3 separate regions of the Homo sapiens genome follow, and regions 1 and 3 are each linked to region 2. Evidence: promoter capture Hi-C in 16 types of primary human blood cells and fetal thymus (Javierre and others, 2016). All regions are on one chromosome and are shown on one strand. Each heading gives the region's core, a stretch centred on a gene start or on the middle of the fragment in contact. The rest is flanking DNA. Distances are from core to core; before and after follow the strand shown.

The links. The method cuts DNA at HindIII sites, captures the fragments that hold promoters and counts their contacts. A CHiCAGO score of 5 or more calls a contact.
Region 1: a contact is called between a fragment that was not itself captured here and the fragment with the promoter of ACSL3-AS1 in region 2, in 1 of 17 cell types (total B cells). The highest score is 6.1, in total B cells.
Region 3: a contact is called between a fragment that was not itself captured here and the fragment with the promoter of ACSL3-AS1 in region 2, in 1 of 17 cell types (fetal thymus). The highest score is 5.2, in fetal thymus.

What each region holds. Positions count from the first base shown.
Region 1 is chr2:222,599,052-222,603,595 of GRCh38, reverse strand. FARSB (phenylalanyl-tRNA synthetase subunit beta) reads left to right here. Exons shown (of 17, transcript NM_005687.5): 16 at 3,513-3,668. Among named protein-coding and RNA genes, the nearest start is that of FARSB, 55 kb to the left of the region's middle. The HindIII fragment of the contact is 427 bases long and covers 2,776-3,202 here.
Region 2 is chr2:222,918,200-222,922,265 of GRCh38, reverse strand. It overlaps ACSL3-AS1 (ACSL3 antisense RNA 1), which reads left to right and starts at 2,665. Exons shown (of 3, transcript XR_923949.3): 1 at 2,665-2,727; 2 at 2,907-3,036. It overlaps ACSL3 (acyl-CoA synthetase long chain family member 3), which reads right to left. Exons shown (of 17, transcript NM_004457.5): 7 at 3,064-3,202; 8 at 836-986. The HindIII fragment of the contact is 9,982 bases long and covers 1-4,066 here.
Region 3 is chr2:222,613,872-222,618,180 of GRCh38, reverse strand. FARSB (phenylalanyl-tRNA synthetase subunit beta) reads left to right here. Exons shown (of 17, transcript NM_005687.5): 15 at 4,253-4,309. Among named protein-coding and RNA genes, the nearest start is that of FARSB, 40 kb to the left of the region's middle. The HindIII fragment of the contact is 1,357 bases long and covers 768-2,124 here.

The DNA.
Region 1 (4,544 bases), core at 1,740-4,239, 320 kb after region 2:
TCTGAGCTTTGTTTCTCCATCTGTTTTATAGGAATAATAATACTTACTTTGCATGGTTGTCTTGAGAATTAAATAAGATTATAGATAAATTGACAGATAGTTAATACCTAGCATGTGCCAGATAATCGATACCACAGATTAACAGTTAATGTTAGTTTTCGTTTTCCTCCATTTATGTGCTTACTTTTATATTATTTTAATATTAGAGTACAGTGTCTTAAAATATTCATGTTTTACTTGGATATCTAGAAGATAAAAGGCATTCTGTATTTTATGTCAACTATTGCTAGTAGCTTTTACCTATGGGAGTAAATCCGTGGAAGAAGTTTTGCTCAATGTATGCTAACATGAAGCAGCTTTCTGTTTTCAGTTTATTCCCTCAGATATTAGTTTGTTTTTTCTCTTTTTAATTTGGAAAGCAAAATGAGGCCAGCATTCGTTCTATGTTTGTGTTAGAGCAGCGGTCTCCAGAATGTATTGAAGGGCCACAAGTGTTATAAAGTTAAATGATGACTGCTGACTTTCAGTCTTCCTCTCTATACTTAGGTACTTCTTTTTAAAAATGAGTTTTGTTACAGGTTTAGATGATTTTTTTTTTTACAAAATAAAAATTTAATAAATTAATTTTCAGAAATCAATAGCTTTTATAGATACAATATGTCTAATTTCAAGCTCTAAGGGAAGAAAAGACCCATGTTATAATAGCACAAAACATAAATGATAACATACTTAGGAATAAACACAAGAAATATTATTTGTAGAAAATGTTAAAGTGCTAATGAGAGATGAAATAAGACCCAAACAAATGGGAAGATACACCACGTTCTTTCATAGAAATACGCAGCATCATAAAGATATCACTTCTCTCATTAATGGGTGCAGCACACCAACATGGCACACGTATACATATGTAACAAACCTGCACGTTGTGCACATGTACCCTAAAACTTAAAGTATAATAATAATAAAATTAAAAAAAAAAGAAGTAGAATTACTGGATAATATGGTATAAAAAAAAAAAGAAAAGCCACCTTTATCATATTCTCAATTCTTGTAAGTATTTAGATCTGTTTCTGAACTGTTCTGTTCCACTCATCTGTATGACTACTCACAAATTATTGCCACTCTGTTTTAATTGCTGTAGATGTATAAATTTTAATATCTAGTAGTCTCCCTCTATCACTATTGTTTTTTTATATGAACTTTAGAATCCATTTATGTAATTTTTTTCAATTCTATTGGTATTTTTTTTAAGATCACATTAGATTTGTAAATTGAGAGAGGTTTAGATGATTATAATTATCACTACAAGATCAAAAAGTTCCATCACCCTAAAAACGCCTTATTTTAGTTGCATTTTTTTCCCATACCTAATCCCAGACAACTACTATCTGTTCTCTGTTCCCATAAGTTTGGCCTTTTCCAGAATGTCATATAAATGGACTCATACTGTCTGTAGCCTTTTGAGAGCCTTCTTTCTTTCAGCGTAATGCCTTTGAGAGTCATCCAGGTTGTCAAGTCTATCTACAGTTTGTTCCTTTTTGTTGCTGAGTGGTATCCTACTGTATGGATGTACCAGTTTGTTATCAGTGTTCATTTGGACTGTTGGAATTCTTTTTTAAAATATTGCCTTTAGCTGGGCACAGTGGCTCACACCTTAATTCCAGCACTTTGGGAGGCTGAGGCAGGAGGATCACTTGAGCCCAGAGTTTGAGACCAGCCTGGGCAACAGAGTGAGACTTTGTCTCTGCAAAAAATTAAAAAATTAGCTGAGTGTGGTGGCGTGTGCCTATGGTCCCAGCTACCCTGGAGGCTAAGGTGGGAGGATTGCTTGAGCCCAGGAAGTTGAGGCTGCAGTGCACTTTTATATTATTTGTGGTTGCGCCAGGGTGGGCAACAGAGCGAGACCCTATCTCAAAAAATAAAGTGAAATAAAATGAAATATTGAGTTTGTAAGTTTGTTTTAGTTTTCAAAGTAGAATAATATATACTAATCATGGAAAAACTGGGAAGTAAATAAAAGTTGGAAAAAATTATCCTTGCCCAAACATAACCTCTGTTAACATTTAGGTATATTTCTTTTCAGTCTTTTTCTCTGTTCATGGGGTTTTTTGGCTTATGGCTATATTTATGTAGTTGTGATTCTGTTTTTCATCTTTTTATTATTATTATTATTATTATTGTAGAGATGGGGTATTGCTATGTTGCCCAGGTTGGTCTCAAACTCTTGCCTTGGCCTTCCAAAGCGCTGGGATTACAGGCATGAGCTGTTTTGCCTGGCCCTATTCTTCATATACTTTAAAAAATTATTATTATTGTGGTAAAAAACATATGAGAGCTACCCTTTTAGTAAACTTTTAGAGGTGCACAGTTACAGTAGTGTTAACTATGTGCACGTTGTTGTGGGTCTCTAGAACTTTTCATCTTGCATGGCTAAACTTTTATACTCATTCAATATCAATTCCCCATTCCCTTTCCCTCCAACCCCTGGCAGCTACCTTTCTACTTTCTGTTTCTCCGAGTTTCATGACTTAGATACTTCATATAAATGGAATCATGCAGTATTTGTCTTACTGTGAGTGGCTTATTTAATTTAGCATAATGTCCTCAAGATTCACCCATGTGGTAGCATAGCTTCATAAACTTTAGTATTCTGCTTTTTTTATGCTTTGTGAAGAATGTATTCAACATAGGTAGTTTTTAAAATATTACAAAGTACACACTAGTGTAACCATCAGCCACATTAAGAATGGAACATTGCCAGTATCCTAAGCTTCTTATATGACCCCTCCCCATCACAGATTCTTCATTTTAACCTAGGGTAATTGTTAGCCTAACTTTGGTCATAGTCATTACCTTACTTGCTTCATAGTTTTCCAATCTATGTTTGTTCTTTAAACAATGTAATTTAGTTTTGCCTCTTTTTGAACCTTGTGGTCTCTTTTTAATTTTCATTTACTATGATAAGTATTTGCTGTTGCTGTGTTATGATAAACCATCATAAAGATGCTTTCTAATAGCCGCTTAGTATCCTGATGAGTGATTGCACTGTACTTTATGTAGCCATCCCTAATATAGGTTGTTTATAATTTTACTATTGGAAATAATGTTGTAGTAAATGTCTTTCTACATAAAGCCTTTTTGAATTTAGGATTATTTCCTTTGGGTAGTATTAATATTATGAATAAGAGAGTATGAAGCTTTAAGGCTCTGATATATTGGTAAATTGTTTACAAAGAATTTTACCAACTTATACCTCAGTGAAGCCTTATTTTCCCTGGTCAGCATTGAGGGTTTTTCACTCTTTCCCCCAAATAAAACACCTTAGGGAATTTGATGAGCTGAAAAAAGACTATTTTATCTTATTTTGCATTTGTGAGGTTGAATCCTTCTCTGAATGTTTAATATTTGGTTTTCTTTTTTGTTGACTTTTTCTAAGTTTGTACTGGGGTAAATCAGTTTCTTAAGCAATGGTTAATACAGCGTTGTGACCAGTTCCTTTATTTTTCTAGATGTAGGTGCAAAAAACTACAGACATCTCTGTGCTGTTTATTACAACAAGAATCCTGGGTTTGAGATCATTCATGGGCTGCTGGACAGAATTATGCAGTTGCTCGATGTGCCTCCTGGTGAAGACAAGGGGGGATATGTGATCAAAGCATCAGAAGGTAAGACAGATGAGCCGAATCCAGAGTTAGTGACAGTGTCAGGAAGAGGCTACACCTTGTTTTTGATGAAGTTGGTAGTTTTGATTTGGGATTTTAGAAAGAAAGGGAGAGTTTTATTTCAATTAATTGTCAATATTATCCAGAAAATATCCCCTTTCCCTCCAGCATTTTAAGAAAACACTTTTCAGAACTCTCGTAAGTGCTGCACAGTATACTTTCGTTCCAACTGAGCTGTAACCCCTAGTTACTGGCACCTTTAAGCCATCAAAATGGCTAAATCACTGGCACCTTTAAGCCATCAGCACATGGTGAACCCAGAAGTTTTAACTGGAAGCTGGTAAGACCTAAAGTGATGGTTTGCACTCAAAAGCTGCCTGTCTGATGGCTTTAAGACAAAAGAAAAAAGAAAACAAAAACAAAAACCTCAGAAGTTATTCTGAAAGATTTCACACATGTTAATCAAGTCATAAAGTTTGCAGAGCAAGGGTGGGAATCCTCGTGTATAAAATCCCAAGTACAGTAAAATCTTTGTTGGAGAGTTTAAGCTAGGCTAACTAAATGGTATATATGTGCTCCTAATATTCTATTAATAGTTTCTCATTATCCAAGGAACTCTGAAATTTTTGCTTTTCATATTTCTGCAGCTTCAATCTAAATTTATTTTGTTAGATGAAAGGTCCAGAAACAACTTGAGAGAAATATTTCACCACTTATTCCTACCGTTTACCTCACTGTGCTTTATAACTCTATTTGGCATCTTAAATTTCTAACAGAACATTTACTTTTAAAGTGTTATTTAACAGTTAGTAATGAGATTTGGTGGGGTAATATGTTTTTTTCTTTTATTTATTAGTCCTCAGGGATTGTTTTTGTTGG
Region 2 (4,066 bases), core at 1,416-3,915:
ACAACTATCTGCCAGAAATTTTACAGATAAGACTCTTGTTGTGGGAATTGGATTACATAATAAATTAGATCTTAATATACAGAAAATGTGTAAGTATTTGTATATACTTCAAGAGCTGCCCCCATAACCAAAATATAGAAGGTAACTGAGGCAAACCTGTAAGAAAATTGTTGCACTTAATTTTTTCTGAAATGTATGCATACGTAAGAGACATTCCTCCATCCCCAAGTTCAGTACCATAGCAATTACGTGAGTGTGTGTGTGCGTGTATGTTTGTAATTTCTGTGCATAAAAGCATCAAAAATATCCAACCACTGTACCCTATCGGTCATCAGAATACCAATTGCATCTCTGGCAATGTTTCCTTGACAGTCCCTCAAACTTCCATCTGGTTTCCTCCATCAGTCTCTTCCCCACTCCACTCTACCTTCCACTGCTACCACTGGAGTTTGTATTAACAAGAAAAATCAGAGACCAAATACTGAAGCTCAACAAATACTTAGTGGATAAATTAAGTTACCTGTTCACCTGAATTGTATTTAGATATAAAAAAAACTACAGCAGCAAATACAAGCTGATTAAAACAAAGGATTTACAACTATACAAATTTAAGTTCTGTACTTTTTAAAATATATCTATATGATATATTTTCAACCTCACAACTATAACTATTTTGCCATTAATTTTAATGTCCTTTTTTATTTTTTAAGGAAATGCCTACTACAAACAGACTCTGAGGGACTAATTTAGCCATATATTAATAAAATGACACAAATGCTAACATTATAACAGACATAAATACTTAACTACTCAATGTTACTTTACTATGACATACCCTAGTTCTGGAATCCTTTCTGCCATCCCAGTTATACCAGCAATAATGTTACTATGTGAGATCATGACTCCCTTTGGAAGTCCTGTGGATCCACTTGTGTACATGATTACTGCAATATCTGAGGGCAATGGTTTGCTATGAGGTTGGTTTTCTGCATTGAAGAGAAAAAACACACACATACACTTTCATGAGATTCAGCTGTATCAACAATTTCTTTTCATTATCATCAAATAAATAACTCAATCAAATTGAGTTAATTTAACTCAATTCAACAAATATTAGTTATACTGAGATCAACAAAACAGATCAAGTCCCTGCACGTATGGGAGATATATTCTATTGAGATATACAAACAGATTAACCTATGAAGAAAACTGAAGCAAGACAAGGTGAGAAGATGACAATAGATGCTATTTGGATGGAAAAGCCTGGAGACCGTCTCTGTAGAGTTTCGTTTAGCAAAGGCCTGAATAAAGTGAGGAAGGGAGCCATGGAAACCCTGGAACTGGGAGAAGAGTGTTCTAATTAGAAGGAAATAAGCAAATGCAAAGACCCAAAGGTAGGAATGTGCTCAGCATATCTAAAGACCAGCAAGGAGTGTGGCTGGAACAGAGTGAGCAAGAGGAAGAGTGGCAAGAAACAATAGTCAAGTGGCTATCAGGGACCACACATAGGACCTCAAAGGCCACGGGAAGAACTCTGGATTACGTTCTGGATGTAAAGCAATGTTGTTTTGAACAGGAGTATGTTATTATCTGTGAAAAAAAAGATCACTTTGGCTGCTGTGTGGCTAACTAACTTTACAAGGGGAAAAAAGGTATCAGGGAGACAAGATTATCCCAGTAATTCAACTAAGAAATAAAGGTAGCTTTGGACTAGAGTATCTAGGTGTTTGCTAAAAACTATTCACTGCTTCAGAATGGTGACTAACTTGGTTACACTCAGAGTCCTGCATTAAAACACGATGTGAACCATTTGAAATCAGAAGAGTACCAGCCTAAGGACAACAGCTGAGAAGCTATAGAGGTGGCACAGCAGAAGAACAAAGAGAAATAGGTCATGGTTGGCATTGCTGATATGTCTGAACCACTCCCAGAACTACTCTACATGTGAACTTCTAAATGAGTGTGAAAAAATTATTTAAATGTACTCCCAATAGAATACCCTTCCTCTCCTGTCAGTCAAGATACATTTCTTAAATAATGTTTACACTTGGAAGTCTTTACTTCCAAATCAGCCCTTCACTCCTTCAATGCACAGCACCCTTCTCCAACACCACCACTTCTTGGAAATTACAATCCTTGTGTCATCTGACCTCTGCATGCAGCCCCTGATCCTGCTGATGACTCACCAAGATCTCCTTTCCCTTGGCTTCCAGGAACCACATACTACTAGATATTTTCTTCTTTCCTCTCTGACTAGTCCTTAGTAGCCTCTGAAGCCACCATTCCCTGTTGGTGACCTCACCCCCTACTCCCACAGCTATAATTAAAACCTAACTGCTTCTAGCTTCCAAATCTCTAAGTCCAAACATAACTCGAGTACTAGACTTTTACACACCACTGTCCACAATATATCTGCATCTAAATATCCCACTACCACTCAAATTCCAGGTGCCTAAAATTTGAGTTGAGTGAATGCTTACATCTAATTACTAGGTTTCCAACTACAGAGGAAATGCAGTCCCAGCATCCCAGCAGCTTTTGCAGTATCTCTAAACACTAGTACACTAGCTAACATTTTCTGACGCTTTTTTGAGAATAGGAACTTGTAGAGTCACCATGCCTAGGTGTGCTAGTTGGAGGGTAAGGTTTTCACCTCAGGAAAGGGAAGAACTGGAACAGGGAGTAAAAGGAGGCCTCCAGGTTTAGCCACTCTGTTAACACTTACAGGTAATTCACATAGGACAAGATAAATGTCATTATTTATAAACTAACTTTAAACCACCCAAAACTATCACCATAAAAAAGAAATGAAAACTGAATGTAAAATATTTTAAATTTCAAATAAATACTACCTTTAAAACATTAATAATTAATGTTTATATTTTTCCTTAAAACTTTCTTTAAAGACAAGATGAAAGTATACCTAGAGGGACCTGTTTTCCTAACTGATGTTAGAAAACTGATGTGTCATTTGAGCTAACCTCAGAATCAAAACTTTGGCATAATTCTGGAGAATGTGGTCACCAGAAAGCACAGGTAAGGAATTAGAAAAGTGTAACATACCCATGCTGGCCTTGGCTCCCAGGGCCTCCACTGCAGCCATGGTATGCACAATGATGCCCTTGGGGAACTCGGACCAGGTCGGTGGCTTTCCATCAACAGTGATGATGTGCCGCAGGCGTGGGACCAAAGAAACTATATCCTAGAAATACACCAACATTCATCACGTTCATTATTTTTCAAGCAGCTTAGCGAATAAGAATACTAGTTTACCATATTCGGTGAATCATTAAGTAATTTCTTGCCTCAAAAAAGAAAGAAGAAAGGGTACACTGGCATAATATCACTTTTTACAGATGATTAAGTATTGGTCTGAATTTAAATTATTATTTTATAGCATTAGATTCACTGTGTGTACCCTTGGCCTTTGGTAAAACCCTGATCAAGAAGGGTACTGCCTTATAAAACGGGCATGTAAACACAGGTTGCCTAAACTGTAGAGAAACCAGAAGCCCCTCATATTTTCAAGAGACTACATAAAAATATATGGGGGAAGGAGGAGAAAATTCACATGCAAACTTGTTCAAAATTTTCTTTTTGAACAAGTTTACATGTGAATTTTCTCCTCCTTCCCCCATATAGAATAGCCCAGATATTTCTGGGAGTTGTCTAGAGACCAAAGAAACTCTTTTTACTGTAATATAATTAAAAGTCTCCCTTTTTAACTTCCAAACAATTCTGAAAACTTGTAATTACTTAATGCTTCAGAAGTAAAATAAAAATTACTAGTTTAAAATATAACCCTTCAAAATTACAAATTTACTAAAAGTAAACTAGAAAATAGATGAGCACAATAAGAGAAAAAGTAGTCGTAATTTCTTCAATTTAAACATAGGCATCTTAACAATTTATAACTCTGGATTACTTATACATGAATATATACAAAATCTACTTTTTATTTTCTAAAGGAAAAAATAAAGTATGATATTCATAAAAGTCCACAAAGATTAAGGACTTAAAAGTCATAAAAGAACTAAGTATCAATAATAGGGCTCATGACACTGAA
Region 3 (4,309 bases), core at 197-2,696, 300 kb after region 2:
ATGAATTCTTTATCTATACTTAGGGTCAGAACTTTGAAGAATCCTTATACTAATTTTGGAAGGATTGTAGTAATGAGTTGTTATATTTTATTTTCTGAGGTCTAGTTTCCTATTGCTTTTAAAGTTTGCCCATGGTGTTCCTTTTAATAAGAGGTATTCAAATTCATTTGCATAGAATGATTTTTCAGTAAATCTTAATGGATTTTTGCTTATTCGAAATGTACCTTTTTCTCCCAGTTTTACTTATCTAGCTTGATTACTTTTTTAAAAAACTTTATTTTATTTTTATTTATTTTTTGAGACAGAGCTTCGCTCTCTTGCCCAGGCTGAAGTGCAGTGTCCTGATCTTGGCTCACTGCAACCTCCGCCTCTTGGGTTCAAGCGATTCTTGTGCCCCAGCCTCCCGAGTAGCTGGGATTACAGGTGTGTGCTACCATACCTTGCTAATTTTTGTACTTTAATAGAGATGGGGTTTTACCATGTTGGACAGGCTGGTCTCGAACTCCCGGCCTCAAGTGATCCACCCACCATGGCCTCCCAGAGTGCTGGGATGACAAGTGTGAGCCACCTCGCTTGGCCTTTTGTCAACTTTTATTTTAGATTCAGTTAGTACATGCGTGGGTCTAATTACAAAGGTATATTGCATGATGTTGAGGTTTGGAGTGTGACTGAACCCGTCACCCAGTAGTGAGCATAGTACCCAATAGGTAGTTTTTCAGCTCTTGCTCCCCACCTCTCTCTTCGCCTTGTATTCCCCTAGTGAAGCTTGATAGATTTCTTAAGATGTGGTAACTGTTATGTTCTTCAGGATTTACATCCTGTCTTTTCTATTTTATATAAGTGGAAGGAAAATAATCAGAAATGCATTAAATGTCACTATAAATAGCTGTGGCTTAGCACACTTAAGAATCAATCTTTCTTGGGAGGCCGAGGCGGGTGGATCATGAGGTCAGGAGATCGAGACCATCCTGGCTAACAAGGTGAAACCCCGTCTCTACTAAAAATACAAAAAATTAGCCGGGCGCGGTGGCGGGCGCCTGTAGTCCCAGCTACTCGGGAGGCTGAGGCAGGAGAATGGCGTGAACCCGGGAAGCGGAGCTTGCAGTGAGCCGAGATTGCGCCACTGCAGTCCGCAGTCCGACCTGGGCGACAGAGCGAGACTCCGTCTCAAAAAAAAAAAAAAAAAAAAAAAAAAGAATCAATCTTTCTGCATAAAGTACCTTAAAGATCAAAGAGAGTGCCTGTCTTTTGACCTAACAGATTCTATATTTTACCTTGCTTTACCAACAGGTGAGTCCTACCATCATTAATTTGGCTAAGAGGTTTATATTTATGGTTAAGTTAAATGTAAAGTTCTTCATGGGCCTATAACTCAGTTTCTTGTCTAAATCCTTTCCTTCTCCTGCATAATTCTTAACTTTGGGCTCTTTTTTGATAGTAAATATGTTGGAGAATGGGCAAGATAAAAATGTAACTTGGCTAAAATATGTAAAATTTTATTATAGTGACAATAAACAAACTTACAGAATATTACCACACCCCTTCCAAATTAACAATAATATTCCTTAATCACCTCACATATCCAGTCATTGTTTTAGTTTTCCCAATTGTCATTTTTTTTTTTTTTTTTTTTTTGAGATGGAGTCTCACTCTGTTGCCAGGCTGGAGTGCAGTGGTGCAATCTTGGCTCACTGCAACTTCCGCCTTCTGGGTTCAAGCAATTCTCCTGCCTCAGCCTCCCGAGTAGCTGGGACTACAGGCACGCGCTGCCGCGCCCAGCTAATTTTTGTATTTTTAGTAGAGACGGGGTTTCACCGTGTTGGCCAGGATGGTCTCAATCTCCTGACCTCGTGATCCGCCCATCTTGGCCTCCCATCAATTTTTTTTTTTAACAGTTTGAGTTCGGATTCAAATGTGGTTCATACATTGACATTGATTTATATGCTTTTCATGTCTCTGTTAATCTACAACTTGCACCTCTCATCCTTCCGTCTTTCTTTTCCTTTCAGTTTGTTGAAGAAACTGAGTCATTTGTCCTATAGAATTCTTACATTTAGGATTTTGCTGAATATGTTCCAATGGCCCCCTAAATTTCCAGTAAATTGGTAGTTGGATATAGAAGCTTGATCAGATTCAGGTTTAATTTTTTGTATTTCTGTAGGTTTTTAAATATGCAAATAAGGCATATCTATAAAATACACTGATAAAATTAAGAAAAGTTTTCTATAACAGTAGTTTGTTTATTATATTTCAATAAGTTAAATTTCCTTTTAACTTTTAACATTGTAGTTTTGTTTTTGTGAATGGTTTGGGCACTTGCCCTCCAATGGGGAAAATGAATAATATTTAAGAAGCACCAAGTTGAAGGCGAGTAGCAGCTTGTTGGTATAGTGAGTGTGATGGGAAAGACGTTCTCTTTTTCATTCAAAACACAATCTAACAATTCCATTTAGGGTCTTATGGTTACTTGTGCAGGATCTAAGAGTGTCTGTGTTTTAGCTTGGGTGTTCAGGGCAAACCTCTGTAGGAGAGAACATTTGAGCAGACACTTGAAGGAAGGAAGGAAGCCACATGTGAACCTAGAGGAAGAATGTAGGAGCAGAGTAAGCATGGAGGCCCCAGGATGGAAATCTTGCTGACCAGTGTGGCCTCCAGTGTGGCTGGAGTGCAGTAAGCCTGCGGAAGCAGCAGGGGTTGAGGGTAGAGAGGGAGTCAGGGCACATCACATAGGGCCCCAGGTAGGCCATGGATTTTATTCAAAATTTAATGGAAACCTCTTGCAGATTTTTGACCAGGGGAGTTGCATGGTCTGATTTCCATCTTAAAGGACCACTCCGTATGGAGAATAGGCCACAGGTTGGCAGGAATGGAAGCACAGAAGCCAGCTTAAGAATGTTATGCAGTAGTCTGGGGAAAAGATAATAGTGCTTGTGGTCTGAATGCAGAGCCCAGACTCTCACAATAATGTTACACCACTGCTTATAAAACTCTTCTGGTAACATGTGTTGGAAGCTAATATATTCCGTATAGCTTACAGGGAGAAATATGTTTTACAGACAAAGCAGGAAATTTTTGCTTTTTTTTAATGTACCAGGGTATGCATTTCTTAGGAATAGGAAGAATGAAATGACTGTACATGCTTTCTTTCACATTTGCTTTAGTTAATAAAAAGTTTAGAACTGTAGTTACAGCCTACCCATAGCAGCTGTATATATTTTTTAGCACCTACATATTTGTATTCTGTTTTCCTCATTGTGATATTTTAATTGCATTTACATTTTTCCTGGTCCTAATTCTGATTAATTCATATTTAATTTATTTATGGTTTTATTTATTTATTTGTTTAGAGACAGGTTCTCTGTTGCCTAGGCTGGAGAGCAGTGGTATGATTATAGCTTATTGTAACCTTGAACTCCTGGGCTCAGGCAATTCTCCACCTCAGCCTCCCGAGTAGCTGAAACTAAAGGCATGTATCCATACCTAGCTAATTTTTAAATCTGTGGAGGTGGTGTTTTGCTATGTTGCCCGTGCTGGTCTTGAACTACTAGCCTCAAGTGTTCCTCCTACCTCGGCTTCCCAAAGCTTTGGGATTACAGGCATGAGCCACTGTGCCTGACCTATATTTAATCTATTTAAACATTTGTATTTCTTGTAGTCTATTTCAATTACTTTGTGAAATGAGGCAGGATATGAAAACTTGCAAACATGCATTTGAAATCTTGAAAGCAAACTTTAGTTTTTAAAATGATAATCAATTAGCTGGGTGCAGTGGTGTGTACCTGTAGTTCCAGCTACTTGGGAGGCTGAGGCAGGAGATCACTAGAGCCATTTGAGGCATTTGAGGCTGCAGTGAGCTATGATTGTGCCCATTGCACTCCATCCTGTGCAAAACAGTGAGACTGTGTCTCTAAAAAAAGAAAAAATAAAATAATGAATGATAATGAATAAAATAACCAAGGCTTAGATATAAGCAAACATATTTAGGTTGTATTTGTTTCTCGTTTATTTTTTAATCAAATTTATGATTTTTCATTTTGTAAATTTGGAAGCCAGAATGTTTTCAGTTCTTTTCAGTTCAATTTCAGTGTCCTGGAATTGAAAATTGAAAGTGACTTGGATATTTTAGGGCAATGCATTTTCCAGAAGTGTCTTCCTATGAAGCCATAGTCTTTCTGCCATGGTCTTTGTCTTTAACCAAGTGTCTTTGTTTGGGTCCTATTTGGTCAGTGCAATTTCATGTCTTTTCCTGTAGGTGGCACGCACTACCCTTCTTCCTGGCCTCCTGAAGACCATAGCAGCAAATCGTAAG